Regions from separate parts of the Homo sapiens genome. Here regions 1, 2 and 4 are each linked to region 3. The links are contacts of gene promoters, found by promoter capture Hi-C in blood cells and fetal thymus (Javierre and others, 2016). All regions are on one chromosome and are shown on one strand. Each heading gives the region's core, a stretch centred on a gene start or on the middle of the fragment in contact. The rest is flanking DNA. Distances are from core to core; before and after follow the strand shown.

Region 1 (3,891 bases), core at 176-2,675, 640 kb before region 3:
AGAAATGGAAGTGGCCTAGAATGACAAAGATACTTTATATAGGTGCTTTTTAGAATTCGTTTTTAAGGACTTCTTCAGGATGATCTCATTCCTACTCACACATGTGAGTGCACCATTTGTTTGCTGTGCAATACTACTTACATATCTATTACGTATCTATTTATATTGTTATTTAGTTTTTCAGGCGTTTGTCTTTTCCTCTCCAACTAGATCAAAAGCTACGTGAGGGCCAGGAGGCAGGTATGGCCATTTTTGCCTACCCAGCATCTGTTCCCTTCTTTTGGAAGCAGCATCTCAATTTCCCTCTAGAGAATCACCTCTAACCACTCTCTCAATCCATAGTCTCAATGAGGTTCACTCCCCTCCCCATCCCCAAAGTTGCATGTCTATTCTAAGCACAGGTCAGCAGGGACACATGACTTAGGTTGTGCCTAAGGTCAGCCCAGTGAGACTCAATTTTGCAACTTTTGTTGGAAATTTTGGGAAAGTTTTGTTTTGATTTTTTATTCTGTGGCTTCTGAACCAATAGGATGCTTAGAGGTGCTGAAGGTCATCATGCAACTGCATGAAGTAGACCTGCCTGAGGGTGAATTCAATGCAGAAGAAAGAAGCACCAAATGGGGGAAGAGACTGATTTCTGGATCCAGCTGTGCCGGGAGCCAGTGAAAGCCTCTGGCTTTTCAGTTACATAAACCAATGAGAAAGTCTCTCTGTTCTCACTCCAAGTCCTGACTTATGTATAATTTATTCAAAAAGTTTATTTGTTTGTTTGTTTGGTTGGTTGTTTTTCAAGATGAAGTCTCGCTCTATTGCCCAGGCTGGAGTGCAGTGGTGTGATCTGGGCTCACTGCAACCTCCACCTCCCAGGTTCAAGCGATTCTCCTGCCTCAGCCTCCCAAGTAGCTGGGATTACAGGTGCCTGCCACCAGGCCCTGCTAATTTTTGTATTTTTTTTTTAGTGGGGATGGGGTTTCACCTTGTTGGCCAGGCATGTCTCAAACTCTTGGGCTCGAGCAATCTTCCCACCTCAGCCTCCCAAAACGCTGGAATAACAGGTATAAACCACTGCATGTGGCCTCAAAAAGTATTTATTACCCGCCCATGCTAGGGTTAAAGATACAGCAATGAACATGTTCTATGAATGTTTGTTTTGATTTCTATTTGAATGATCTTGCTATTGTGAAATTATAGGTTTAGCCTCTAATAATTTTTAAAATAGACACTTATAAGTAAACCATTTTCAAGCTTCCTCAAGAAGCAGTTGGTAAACATGTTTGTTCAATATGTTAAAATATTAAACCAATGCTCTTATATTCTGGTACTCAGTACTCTTACAGAATATAAATAAGAAATAGTCCCTACTTTAGAATGGCTTATGATATCATCTAATGGGAAAGATAGCACAATTGGAGGGAGGAAAACCCTCAGGCTCCTAAAACTGATAACAGACACAAGTGCAATACATAGTTCAGAGAGAGAGAGAGAGAGAGAGAATGAACAGGCATGTGTGTATATCCTAAGAACATTCTGAACTGAGTAGATGTCCACACCTAGGTGAAATAATAAAGGAGAAAGCCTGGAGTGGATCTTGATTTTGTGGGAAGTGAAGCTTATACAATTTATATAAGGGTCCTCCTTAAGAAAACAAATGCAAAGTTAGGCATAAGGTCTTAGCTGGTGCAAGCAAGGCCCTGAAGCTTAAGATTTGTTAGCTTCAGGGTTGATCTGCCTACGCAGGAGAGGTCTGAGTATGTGCAAAATCCCAAGTGGTGGTTCAAGGAAGTACAAACAGGTTTAACTAACTAGGGTGGGAAAGGAAAGCTAGCAGATAGAGGAAATGACAATTACATTACTAACTGATTGATTGAAAAGGCTGGTCATTTTAGGGATCCTAAAAGCTAAGGAGATTAAGTTTCATGATTATGTAATTGGGAACTAGAGCAGATTTCTAAGAAGGAAAGTTGCATGGTTAGGGAAAAATTTCTTGCCACTGGGTTTAAGATTAATTAATCCATAAATAAAAGTAGGTACTAGGGCTCCTAGAGATATTTGTAGCAAGAAATGATGATTTTGTGGACCAGGATGGAGATTGCAGAAACTGAAAGGAAGGAAATGAAGTCATATCCAAGTGATTTTGAAGGAAATAGTCTAAATATGTGGAAGAAAACAGGACTGAAAGGTCTGGAAGTTTTCAAGGCTGAAGTGCAGAGGTTGGCAATGGATTCATTTTGATGTTACTTTTTTCTAACATAAGCTTCTTGCAGGTCAGGATTTAGGGCTTTAGGATTATTTTGCACTATTTTTTGTAGATGCACATTTAGTACATATCTAATATTCTTTAATATTCCAGTAATGTAAGAAATCTTGATAGTGTTTCCATGTGAGCTATTAAGGGGGAAAACTGTATAGCCCCTTCCATGATGAATGGAAGTGCTAGATTCCAAAACTACATACTCCAGAAGAGGAATGTGACTGGCAACGTGGTCAAAGGAAAAGAAGTTAGCCTTCGGGTTTGGAAATCTCTCCCTGTCTCCATGTTCTGAGCTTAAAATATTCAGATGGCTTCAGCTCAGTTACAGCCTCCCTTGGGTGTCCACAGGGGCCTTGAAGGAAGCAGAAGAGAGTTCATCTCACCTGTAAACACTGAAGTAAATGGATGGCCCACCCTTTGTATGCAGAGTGAAGAAAAAGGATTAAACACTGGCGTGGCAATGATGACCAGGCATTTTCTTGGAGGTTACACTTGAAAAACATATAGGGTTTTTCAATCATTTAAAGATAATTCTATCCCAAAGGATTGAAATAATCCAGTTTGGGCCAAACCTACCTGAAAACAAGACATAGAACATTTCTATGATTTACTCATTTTCCCTTCAGAAACTCAAATCTACCACCAGCAATATTGAAAAGATAGAGTGCATTACACCCTGCTATTCACTGATTTCAGCAATGGAAGTGTGAACGTGGGAAACCTGAGTTTATTCATCAGTTTTAAGAAAACCCTCAAGATATAAAGCTGGCTCTGTGGGAATCTTTAGTCTGATTGCTCTAAGAGCAATAGCCACTGTCTAGGAGCAAAAAAGGAGGAATTTAGTGGAAGCTCAGTTCAATTCTAAATGATCTGACTTTGGTTTTATCTGCAGTTTCTTTGCTATGAACCTATAAACAAACCAATAGGGCAGTTTTGGAAAGGAGAGTATTCACAAATCATAGTAACAAGAGTCAGGCCACTAGGGGGGATCGTTAAGCCATTTTGTGCAAAAAGAATGACTTAACTTTTGAAAATGACTGCAGTTTCATTATTTTAAGTCGTCATTAGTCAACTTTAAGCAGGCACAGCACACCAGAACTGGAATTCAATCTTTGTAAGCAAACTCATATCTCCACCTAAAGCGATCAAATGCCTGTAAACATCCCTTTCTTGTTTTAATTGCGAAAGGATTATTGTGGGCTTTGAAGTAATAGCTGTTCCCACTACCTGCTTCCAGAAGCAGCTGTTCCCACAGCATCACAGCAGGTGCAGCCCAGAAGCTGGGCCCTGCCCTTATCATGTAGCGGGTGGTATATTTGCAGAGTCCAATGTGTGTTCAGTCCTGAATTAGCCAACTTTGTTATCTAAATTCTCCTAAACCCAAAGCCTAACAAGAAAATAGCAAAGAGTAATTCCCCCATAATAATCGCAGAGGGATGGGGATCAGGGAGGATGTGAGAGGCCGGACTAAATGAAGCATTTTTTTTTTTTTTCAGACAAAGAGGCAAAACTCTAGATTTAAAAAAAAATGAGAGGGGGGCTGAAATGCACATGTGGAGATTGTTTAAACAAAACTCCAGTGTTTTTAGAATTGCTTCTCCAGCGGATCAGATATCTTGCTTGCCCTACGTTAATAATCA
Region 2 (3,937 bases), core at 1,242-3,741, 710 kb before region 3:
TTTCAAAAACTTTTATATAAGATTAAATACAGCATGAGCACATTACTATACAGAGCCTCTGAATTGCTAAAATGACTAAATAAAAAATTTAAATATCAGCATGACAAGATTCTAGTACTTTTAGAAAACATAAATTGAAATGTAATTTCAGTGCATGATGCTCATTTTTATAAAACTCACCTTGTCTAGATTTATGATCATATAGTTTGGATAATCTTCCACTAAAGAGACAATCATATGTGATGCACTATGGAAAAAAAGTATATCTTGTTAGTGAAAAACTTTAACTTCCCTAAACTCTTGAATATTTTCCTAAGGTGTTGAGTACTAGGAAAATACTCAAAGATAACTTTAATTTTTTCTAAGATAACAGAAAACATAACTACACTAAATATACACACATGCAAACTTTTTACCAAACTTCTCAACAGTATCTATAAACAAAAGTTTTACATTCCATTTAGACTATGCAGAAGAGAGAATGTACTGGTTCTGGGTATAGGGAAAAAAGTCAGTTTAACCAAACGATGCCATCCATACAGGTACAAGTATCGAGTAAAGTGGAACAATAAATGGGAGCTAGTCAGCACAACTGTACATGCCTATAGCATGCCTTTTCAGGAACTGCAGATATAAGTATGTAAAAATGAAATTACTATGAGTATAGTCAGTTGTCTATATTTAATAGTAACTTCTGCAATTGCTATTTCTTGGTATAAGATTTTGGTAATGTTAAACCAGAATCCTCAGGAGGCTTCTAGACTAAACCCAGGATTCCCAGGCTAATAACAGCTGAAACCATTCTGAGTTGGATATCCACAGTGGGTCCTGGGCTTCAGAGGACCCTAAAGGGGAATCACAGGCATATCTCAGTGAAATGATCTACCAGATTTACCATGTATACTTAAAATGTTGGGCTCCCAGGAGAGGGGAGCCCTTGACCAAATTATGAACTTGAAGTTTGTATTCGGCATTCCTTTCACAGCACTTTCTAAGTCGCACCCTTCCTGGACCCGCACTCTCACACAAGTATCACCCTTTCATGTCCATAGTCCTCTTTCTCATTAAGTGAAACTTGCCAGCCTGATGCTCTCCCCCAAATGACTTGTCGGATTAGAAGGGGTGATTTAATGTGCAAATGGCCATAAACAGGAATCCTCACATTCCCACTTCTTCCACTAGCCACTGAGTTCCTTGAGGGGAGGATAGGAGAGTTTCCTGTTTATTACTCTTGCATTCATCCATTCCACAATTACTAAAGACTTATATAGAATGGGCCAGGCATTCTTCCAGGTGCTGAATGAACAGTAGTCTCTGTCCTTACCGAGTTTGCATTTTAGAGTGGGGATACAAGCAATAAACAAGCAGACACAAATCCGCAATATAATTTCAGGTAGAGGTTAAGTGTGCTAGTTGGGAGAGGGGCTATTTTAGATATGGTGGTCAGGTAAGAACTCTCTGAGGTGCTATCTGAATAAAAACCAGAATTGAGTGGTGCAAACAGCCTAAGGAAAGGGGAAGCAAGTGCAAAGGCCTCAAGACAGAAGTGTGTATCTTGGTGTGTTCCAAGAACTAAGAGGGGAAGCATGGCAGGTACAGAAAAGCAGATCAGGTTGCAAAAGTAGGGCTTGGGCACTTGAGTTTTCTAGATATGGTAGAGTTTGGGCTTTATTCTTAAGTGTGGCAGGAACCACTGAAGTAAAATCCTGCTTCTACCATGATCTGATTGACTTAAGAAACACTGACTTGTATGTGAGCAACAGGCTTTAAAGGAACATGAGTGGACGCAGTTATGGCCAACCAAGAGGCTACAGCAGCAGTCGAGGCAAAAGATGACAGTAAACATGGGCTAGGGTGGAAACGGGAAACTGGTGAGAAGTGGTCGCCGTAAGGATATACTTTGGAAGTAGAGAGGACTTGCTGCTCGAATGTGGGTCTGAGGAAGAAAAGGGTGTCAACAGTGGATTTGTAAAAGTTTGCTGATTACATAGATGTCCTATTATAGTCCTTAAATCGTTTTGGGGGTGCCTATATGTACAGGGCCCATCGTGGGGTGTGGGTGCTCTAGGCTGGAGGTGGGAAGCAGTCGGTGAGCAGCTTAGGGTAACTTGCACGCACTCAAGGAGTGACATGGTGAGCACCTCCGGCCACAGAAGGGCGGAGAGTAACGCAGCTTTGGAAGAGGCGTTTTAAAGAAGTCAGTTTCAAAGGAACCACTTCTTTGCAGGCCAGAGAGAGAAAAGCTGGTCCAGGTCGTGCATTAGGACCCTCCCCATATCAGAATAAGGACCCCTCAAAGCTGGACCCAAATTACCTAGGGCAAGCAGAGCTGCGGGAAAAGGTAGGGGTTTCTGGGGAGCCACTGCTTGGCTAGCGGCGCCATTACCTACATGAAACCAGCACCGCCGGTCACCAGGACCCGCTTCGCAAAGCCGCCGGGAAGACCCCACGGTTCCTCCCAACACGCCGCCGACATCTCCCAGCTCAGCAGTGCCTAGTACCGTAAAGAGTATGGTCTGAAAAGCGCAGGGAAGTTCCGCCGCGACCTTTTGCGACGCGCCTCGCTCGCGGGACACGTTAACAGAGCAGCCAGAGGCAGCTTCCGGAGACTGCTCTGTGGCCAGTTTCTGCCCGCCCACTAGCGGGCTGGGCGGGGCCGCGCTCACCACGCGCAGGCGCTGCTCCTTTCCGCCCTTGCCTGGTCCGCCAGGTGCAATTGGGGTCGCCCGGATGGTAGGGGTATGGAACGTTTTTCCCGGAAATGCCACCACTATGGATCAGATTTATGAATGAGTACCTTTTTTCATTCTTGTACTACAGCCATCTCTAGAGGTTACCTATCAGTTGAGCTGAGAACGGGGAGTTGTTGCAGATGGAGATGGGAGGTTGCAATTTAAAAATGATTTTTTTTTTTAGTGGGGCGGGGACAGGGTCTCCCTCTGTTACCCAGGCTGGAGTGCAGTGGTGCGATCACGGCTCACTGCAGCGTCGACCAATGGGGCTCAAGCAATCCTCCCACCTCAGCCTCCTGAGTAGCTAGGAATACAGTCGTGCGCCACCACGCCCGCCTAATTTTTGGTAGAGATGGGTTTCGCCCTGTTGTCCAGGCTGGTCTCGAACTCCTGGGATCTAGCCAACCTCCCGCCTCAGCCTCCCAAGGTCCTGGGATTACAGGCGTGAGCACCGTGCCTGGCCTGCAAAATGATCTTTTGCTGTTGTTAATATTATTTCAGGCCGGGCGCCGTGGCTTACGCCTGTAATCCCAGGACTTTGGGAGGCCGAGGTGGGCGGATCACCTGAGGTCAGGATTCGAGACCAGCTTGGCCAACATGGTGAAACCCTGTCTCTACTAAAAATACAAAAATTAGCCGGGCGTGGTGGCGGGCGCCTGTAATCCCAGCTACTTGGGAGGCCGAGGCAGGAGAATTGCTTGAACCCGGAAGGCAGAGGTTGCAGTGAGCCGAGACCGCACCATCGCACTCCAGCCTGGGCAACAACAGCAAAACTCCGTCTCAAAAAATAATAATATTATTATTACAGACAGCGCAGAAGGCTTGCAATCATGATAAAGATATTCCCTAGGTCCTACGCTGATGTCTTATTCTATTCTCTCCTTTGCTCACTCCGCCCCAGCCTCCCCACCCTCCTTGCTCTTCATTCAATGTGCCAGGCATGCTACTTCCCCGGGACCTTGATTGTCTTTCCCCAGATGTCTGCCTAGTTTTTACCCTTACTTCCGTTTTCAGCTTGAATGGCATCCTATTGACCACCACAATTAAAATAGCGAGCTCTGCCCAACCCTGCCGAATCATCTTATCCTTCTTTATTTTTCTTCCTAGCACTCAACATTTACATTGATGTCACTGCCCTCTGTTTAGTGTTCCATGAGGTCAGGGGCTTTGTTTTGTTTTCTGCTGTAATCGCATGTCCTTAGAGA
Region 3 (3,742 bases), core at 696-3,195:
TGAGGCCCATGGGCTGCCAAATTCGTAAGCTTTCTTAAAACATCAGATTTTTTTTTGCGATTTTTTTTTAGCTCATCAGCTATCATTAGTGTTAGTGTATGATTAGTGTTAGTGTATTTTATGTATGGCCCAAGACAATTCTTCCAGTGTGGCCCAGGGAACCCAAAAAATTGGAGACCCCCACCCTAGGTTGTCCCATAATAAAAGGCAATATCAACATGTGGGAAAGATGAGGCGGCAGAGGTCAAGAAACAGAAGATCTAATAATCATCCAAGTGAGATTGAAGCCCTTCAAAGGTTCAGGCTTATGTAGTTAGCAGACGGAATTCCCCCACACACACCCGCCACTCCCCCAAGACGGAGTCTCACTCTGTCACCCAGGCTGGAGTACAGTGGGGCGATCTCAGCTCACTGCAACCTCCGCCTACTGGGTTCAAGCAATTCCCCTGCCTCAGCCTCCTGAGTAGCTGGGATTACAGGCGTGCTCCACCACACCCGGCTAATTTTTGTATTTTTAGTAGAGACGGGGTTTCACCATGTCAGCCAGGCTGGTCTCGAACTCCTGACCTCGTGATCCACCCACCTCTGCCTCCCAAAGTGCAGGGATACAGGCGTGAGCCACCGCGCCAGGCCAAGATGGAAATTTTAGTTACTACTGTCACCCGAGTCTTTCTCCGTTTGTTTCCTTGCACAAAATGGGTAGGGCTGTGGGCCCTCCCAGCTCAGGAGCCCTGGGGTGGTTTTAAGAAGGTAGAACTCCTGGTAGGAACCACCTGCATCAAGACCATGGATCACCTCTCTGAAGGTTAGCGATTCCAGGGACCCCACCTCCGAGCTGTCCTCCTACGTGGAAGTGAAAGTATTGGAAACAGGGGAAAGAAGCTGGTCAAAGACAGACTCCAGTCGTGGCGGTGCATGTCCCAGTTAAAAGCAAATCCTGGAAAATCTTGTTCAAGAACAGGGTCCCCATTCATAAATGAAAAATAATAATAGTGTTATTTTACCCACATGAAACTTGCCATAACTAGGTACCACGACCCACATGGACACACAGTGAGATTCCCACAAAGAGGCAAAAGGAGAGCCCTGGTCACTGAGACAAAAGATACAGAGACACCGGGACACAGAGAGGTACAACGGGACGTGGAGTTGGATCGAGCTGTCTCGTAAGGAATATCGGAAGGGGTGGGGACACTACTGGGAGATGGCATAGGTCCAGGACACTAATTAGGCTTTGGCTGAGATCAGATAAAGGAAACTGTTCGTAAGCTGCTTACTTAAAAAGAAAGGAAAAGGTGCGTTTGAGTTCAGGAGACTGCGAGTCCCAGAGCAGGAGGCGGGAGCCAGCGAAGGGTGGGCGTGTAAGGGGTGCAGTCGCTTCTCCCGCTGGGCAAGAGACTCCCCCTTTCGGCAGCCTGGGTTCCCCGCCTCCCCACCTCCTGCTCCTCCTCCCCCGAGCCCTAAGGGCCCGCAGGGCCTCCAGTAGCAAAGCCACTGGCCCCGCGTCCCCGCGTCCCCCTGCGCCGCGCCCCGGGGCGCAGGCAGGGACCACGCGGCCGGCGTGGGGGCGGCGCCACCCGCAGCAGAAAGCCCCGGCGTGGACCGCGTGGCGTAGGAAAGCGCTCCCCTCGCCCCCAGCCGCAGAGGGCTTGGGCAGCATCGGGCGCGGCCCCGGGAGAGTGCGTCCGCGGCGCCAGCGGCTGCAGGGTGACCTGTTTCGGGCGGGGACACTCACCAGAAGAACACGCGTGAGCAGAGGTTCGCGTCCTGCAGCGGGTTGGGCTTCACCTCCTGGTACACGGGCAGCATCTTGCCGGGCGGGGCGGGCGCGGGCCGGGGTCGCGCTGATCAGGCGGCGGTGGCCGCGGGCTCCGCTCCTGGACCTCAAGCAGGGATGCTGGGGCTCCGGCCGCCACGCCTGTCCGCTCGGCTGGAGCCTGTGAAGCAGCCGCTTCCGGGAGCCGGGCGCCGGCGGCACGCCCCGTCCCCGCCTCTCAGGCCCGCCGCCTCGGGGGCGCCCGCTACGCGCCGCCGCCTGGAGCCCGGGAGCTGCGCACCGCGTGCGAGCGCGGCCGGGACCGACGGGTGACGCGGCGGGAGGAGACGCGGCGGGAGGAGGCGAAGCTGGCGACGCCAAAGGGAGCCCAGAGCTACGCCCAGGGGTGAGGCGAGGGCCGCCTGCGCCGCTGGATGGAGAGGGTAGCAGAGCGCGCGGCAAGGAGGCCGGGTCCGGAGGTGCCCACGTGCACGAACCCGAGTGAAACTTTCCGAAATTCACTATCCGAGTCTAGGCGCCGACACAGAAGGTGGAGCAGGGAGGCGTCGGCTGTGCCCGCCCCTGCGCCGCAGAAACGCCCCCTCGGCTACGGGTTTGGGAAGACTGGGAGACAGCTGCCTCGTGCTCTAGCAGCCCGCCCCCTGGGCGCCTTTCCCTTCTCAGGACCAAACGACGGTGCCATGGGAGGCTCTTCAACCTGTGAGCCAAACATTTGACCTTGGACGACAGCAAAGTTTAGCCACAGATTATCCTTGTAGAGCTGCAAGACCTCAAGAAAGCCGGGTAACTCGAGAGTATGACCCAGATGAATTCGGGAGATGGATGAATGCTGTCGTCGATGGGGGCGGGCTTTAGGCATCTCACATGTTGCATGCTACGGTGGACCTCTGAGCTTTTTGCTGCCCCCTTAGATTGGGAAAGGAATATAAGAGGAAAGAGAGACTGCCTGATGATTTCTGTCGTCAAGCCCTAAAGCCTAACAGATAACAGTGGCAAACGACACGTGGGTTCCAGAATACCAGTGATGTTCATGTGCATTTCTGAGTGCGTAGCCTCACTAGTGTGTGTGTGTGTGTGTGTGTGTGGCAGTCTCACACACAGTGTCACGATTATGGCTCATTGCACCCTCGACCTCCCAGGGCTCAAGCAATCCTCCCAACTCAGTTTAAGTAGCTAGGACTACAGGCACCCGCCACCACACCCGGCTCATATTTTGTAATTTTTGTAGAGATGCAAAAATCAAAATCAAAGGCTCCAAGTTCAAATACTGATAATTTTTGAAGCCAAATGATTGTCATGGAGGTTTATTTTCTTCATATTTCATGCATGTTTGAGAATTTGGTTTTCTTTGTAATAAGATCATTTTATTGTTCCTTGATAATTTCTCACTTTGTTGCCCAGGCTGGTCTCAAACTCCTAGGCTCAAGTGATCCTCCCACCGTGGCCTCCCAAAGTGCTAGGATTACAGGCATGTACCACCACGCCCGACCAATTATCTCACTTTTAATTCTATCAGTGCCCCATTCAAGGTTATCCTTACTTTATAGATGAGGAAGGTGAAGCTGAAAGGCAGAACTTGTCCAGTCTTAGAGCCAAGAAAGGATAAAACATGATTTGCAATAAGCCTATGTCTAAGCATGGCCTGTCTCCCTGGTGGATGGCCAGTGTGCATGAGAAGTGCCCAGAATATGCTGGTTGAATGGCTGTAGGAATGAATGAACAAAATCTTGTTCCAAGCTTGTGTACTCCCACCTCTAAGTCTTCAGTCATTTCTGTGGCTACCTTAACAAGGTCAGCAGCTGCTCTTCATATCCACCCTGAATGAAAAAAAATGAAAGGCTCCAAGTTCATGGTGCTTGGAACAAGATCATTTTATTGTTCCTTGATAATTTCCCATGTATATTTGCTAAAATAGTATAGTTAATAGCTTTTAAAGAAAGCCTTACACAAACACATATTTAAAAG
Region 4 (3,644 bases), core at 765-3,264, 540 kb after region 3:
TTCAACCCAATATATCCAAAATACTAAGTCAACATGTAATCAATACAAAAATTAGTAATGAGATATATGTTATTTTCATTGTATTGAGTATTCAAAATCTGGTGTGTACTTTATACCTTACAGCACATCTCAATTCAGAATAGCAACATGTTAAGGGCTCAACAGCCACATAAGGCAAGTGGCTACTGCACTGGAAGAAGCAGTTACAGGTGGACAAAAAGTACTCCCTGAGACATGGCACACAGGAGGGCTACTCAATGACGGAGATATCCACTTAGGTCTGCTGCTGGAATGAGTATGAAGCCACTGAATTTTGGGGGTTTGTTATGGTAGCTCATGTTAGTCTAAGTACTAAAGATCCCAAAATGACCTACACCACTACTGTATGAGCCACAACAGAACCCTAACAACATATTAGTAGTTGTGTTCAATAATGTTCTTGGCCTCTCTTTATGAAATTCCCTTGCTTACCTCTTAAAAATGCCTTTTTATTTGTTTCTGCTATATTCTACCAACTATGATTACATTCTAACATGCTGGCATGCTATTTTTAAAATATGTATTTCTATACATGTCTGAAAAAGTTCCTATATTTTGTTTTCCTGCTCTTTTTTGTTCAAAATTGTGTGAATTCTAACATTTTAATAGCTTATTCGTCAGTGAAGATCTTGTAAACAATTTTCTACACTTAGCACATTAAAAACAATATACTAGGAAAAAAACTTATTATACCTACTAAAGACAAGGTAGTAGTGGAATATAAAATCTAAATGGACAACAAATAAATTACTTTGAAATATTTTATGTTTAGGAGAGTTAAACTGCACAGCATAAACTGCTTTAAATGAAAATCTAGGAAAAATAATCTCTTAAAAATAAGTAAGAAAAAAGCATGTATGATATATTTTAAGTAGACAAAATTGTCTTGTTTGCCTTTATTTGGGGGAAAATATTGGCAGGATAACTAAACTGAAGACATGTCAAGATGATAGCTAATCCACAAACATTTTCAGCTAGCTCTCAGCCCTTTTTTTTTGTTTGTTTGTTTTTTTGAAATGGAGTTTTGCTCTTGTCTCCAGGCTGGAGTGTAGTGGCGCCATCTCCGCTCTCTGCAACCTCTGCCTCCCAGGTTCAAGCAATTCTCCTGCCTCAGCCTCCTGAGTAGCTGGGACTACAGGCATGTGCCACCACGCCCAGCTAATTTTTTGTAATTTTAGTAGAGATGGGGTTTCATCATGTTAGCAACGCTGGTCTCGAAGTCCTGACCTGAGGTGATCCACCTGCCTCGGCCTCTTAAAGTGCAGGGATTACAGGCGTAAGCCACCGTGCCCAGCCCTCTAAGCCTTTTTTTCAAAAGTCCTTTTGCAGAAAAGAGTTAATACAGAAAGCCTGAAATTGCTATTCTTAGAAAGACCTGCTTGTAAGTTTGGCTCCTCGCTGGCATCTGGGAACACAGGGTTCAGGATGGTTCTCACCATTCCTTTATAAGAGTAACTCACTGTGTCTAAATTATCTGTGCAAAGGTGTTTATGCTAAACACTTGCTTTCCTCCTGAGTGCTGGAAATTTAGGTGTGTCTCAGGCAGACAGTGCTATATGGTCACCAGCCCCCAGTAAAACCCCTGGACACTGGGGTTTCTAATAAATGTCCTTAGTAGGTAATACTTCACACTGGTTGTGGAATCTCTTATTGCTTGAGGAATGAAGCTTGTCCCGTGTGATATCACAGAGAAAGGACTCTTGGAATCTTGCACCTGATTTTCTCTTTGCCCCATGTGCCTTTTCCCTTTGCTGACTTTGCTTTATATCCTTTCACTGTGATAAATCAAGCCATGAATATGATTATATTTTGCATCTCATGAATCTCCTTAGTGAATCATCAAACCTCAGGGTGGTCTTGGGGGCCCCCAAAATAACCCTATACTTGCCAACCTAAGTAAATGTGTAATAGACTGAACAGCAGAAGAAGCGAAGTAATACGTATGCCACTCCCTTTGTAAAACAGAAAGAAAATATTTCTATTTAAACATTTCTGTATCTGCTTACATACAAATGAAAACAAAGACACTCACCAGATCAATTGTTTTGGCTCTTTGTTTGGATTCATCATCACACCAGGTTTCACACCACAGCCAGTCTTGAGGAAGAGACTTAATGGCGACTTGGTAAATCATATTATTGGGGAGATCCTACAGAAAATTGTGATTTAATCATAGACGTATGAAATTTAGAGTCAGAAGGAAAGAAGCTGAATGAAGTAAGACATCAGTTAGACTGTAAACAGATCATAAAACATATGCAAATCTGAGATTTCTCTACACTTTAAAGCTTAAAATACCTAAGGTGATCCAATCATCTTGTGTCATGAATGAATCCATGCACTGGAATATACCTACATCTCTCCTAGACTCTACCCCTGGGAACAAGGATGAAGAAGGAGGCATAGAAACCTACCATTCAATAGTCCCCACAATGGACAGCCTCACTACCTCTATCTGCCTCTATTGCTCACATTATGCCTGCAATTACTGTTCATATTGGTCACCACAATGCTCTCTGGATTCTGAGGTGAATTTTCATCTCCCCATTGGAAACAATGATCCATGAATATTTTCCCATTTCTGCATGCTCAGAGCTCTCTAAGTAAAGATTGCTGGCATCTGGGTTAATGGATGTTTGACTGGCAAACTAGCCTAGTAAGTTAGAGACCTTTGGAGAGAATCAGACAAATCTTCCCCAGAGATATTTGTTTATATTCCAGGGGTGGAGTCCTTCCCTTCCTTTCCCTATAGAAGATCTGCTTATATTCAAGAGCAAAGGCATGTTCCTCTCTCTCCAAGAGTATGAAGGGTACTTGTGCTGGTTGTCCTACATAAGCTCCAAGATTCACAATTTTAAGGTTCTTCTCTCAACATCCCTATTAAACATCACACTGAAAGTCCTAGCAAATGCAATAAGACAAGAAAAGGAAAATGTATATAGATTGGGAAGGGAAAAAAACCTGTCACTGTTTGTGATAACAGGATTGTTTATGCAGAAAATCCCAAGAATCAAGGGAAAAAACTTCTGGAACTGATAAGCAATTTTAGCAATGTTACAAGATAAAAAGTTAATATACAAAAGTCAACTGCTTTTCTATATACCAGCAATGAACAAACATAATTTGAAATTTAAGAAAACACACCATTTACATTAGCACCGAAAAAGAGAAATACTTAAACATAAATCTAATAAAATATGTTCCTCAACAAAATGAAAACTACAAAATTCTGAGGAAAGAAATCAAAGAACACTGAAATACATGAAGAGATATTCTATGTTCACACATAGGAAGACTCCATAGTCAAGATAACAGTTCTTCCCAGATTTATCTATAGACTTAACACAATCCCAATCAAAGGCTTAGCAAGTTATTTTGTGGAGATTGGCCAACTGATTCTAAAGTTTAGGGAAAAAGGAAAAGATCCAGAATATCCAACACAATATTGAAGAATAAAGTCAGAGGGCTGACACTACCACACTTGAAGTCTTACTATAAAGTTACAGTAATCAAAACAGTGTGGTATTGGAAAAATAAGAGACAAATACATCAATGGAACACAATAAAGAGCCCAGAAATAGAAAATTACCCATACTTTCTGCTCA

The links. The method cuts DNA at HindIII sites, captures the fragments that hold promoters and counts their contacts. A CHiCAGO score of 5 or more calls a contact.
Region 1: a contact is called between a fragment that was not itself captured here and the fragment with the promoter of ABCC4 in region 3, in 1 of 17 cell types (erythroblasts). The highest score is 5.8, in erythroblasts.
Region 2: the fragment with the promoter of TGDS here is called in contact with the fragment with the promoter of ABCC4 in region 3 in 2 of 17 cell types (non-activated CD4 T cells and activated CD4 T cells); the score reaches 6.1 in non-activated CD4 T cells.
Region 4: a fragment that was not itself captured here is called in contact with the fragment with the promoter of ABCC4 in region 3 in 2 of 17 cell types (endothelial precursors and M2 macrophages); the score reaches 8.4 in endothelial precursors.

The regions. Positions count from the first base shown.
Region 1 is chr13:94,657,644-94,661,534 of GRCh38, forward strand. No RefSeq gene overlaps it. Among named protein-coding and RNA genes, the nearest start is that of LINC00391, 49 kb to the right of the region's middle. RefSeq lists an enhancer at 3,125-3,626. The HindIII fragment of the contact is 364 bases long and covers 1,244-1,607 here.
Region 2 is chr13:94,593,661-94,597,597 of GRCh38, forward strand. TGDS (TDP-glucose 4,6-dehydratase) reads right to left here and starts at 2,492. Exons shown (of 12, transcript NM_014305.4): 1 at 2,391-2,492; 2 at 181-247. The coding sequence starts at 2,476. RefSeq lists an enhancer at 2,356-2,665. The HindIII fragment of the contact is 5,991 bases long and covers 1-3,937 here.
Region 3 is chr13:95,299,506-95,303,247 of GRCh38, forward strand. ABCC4 (ATP binding cassette subfamily C member 4 (PEL blood group)) reads right to left here and starts at 1,946. Exons shown (of 31, transcript NM_005845.5): 1 at 1,736-1,946. The coding sequence starts at 1,809. LOC102724149 (a long non-coding RNA gene) reads left to right here and starts at 1,446. Exons shown (of 3, transcript XR_429273.4): 1 at 1,446-1,758; 2 at 2,441-2,821. RefSeq lists enhancers at 229-288, 1,891-2,665 and silencers at 1,482-2,121, 2,152-2,211, 2,392-2,451. The HindIII fragment of the contact is 3,485 bases long and covers 28-3,512 here.
Region 4 is chr13:95,835,015-95,838,658 of GRCh38, forward strand. UGGT2 (UDP-glucose glycoprotein glucosyltransferase 2) reads right to left here. Exons shown (of 39, transcript NM_020121.4): 37 at 2,072-2,188. Among named protein-coding and RNA genes, the nearest start is that of DNAJC3, 160 kb to the left of the region's middle. The HindIII fragment of the contact is 621 bases long and covers 1,705-2,325 here.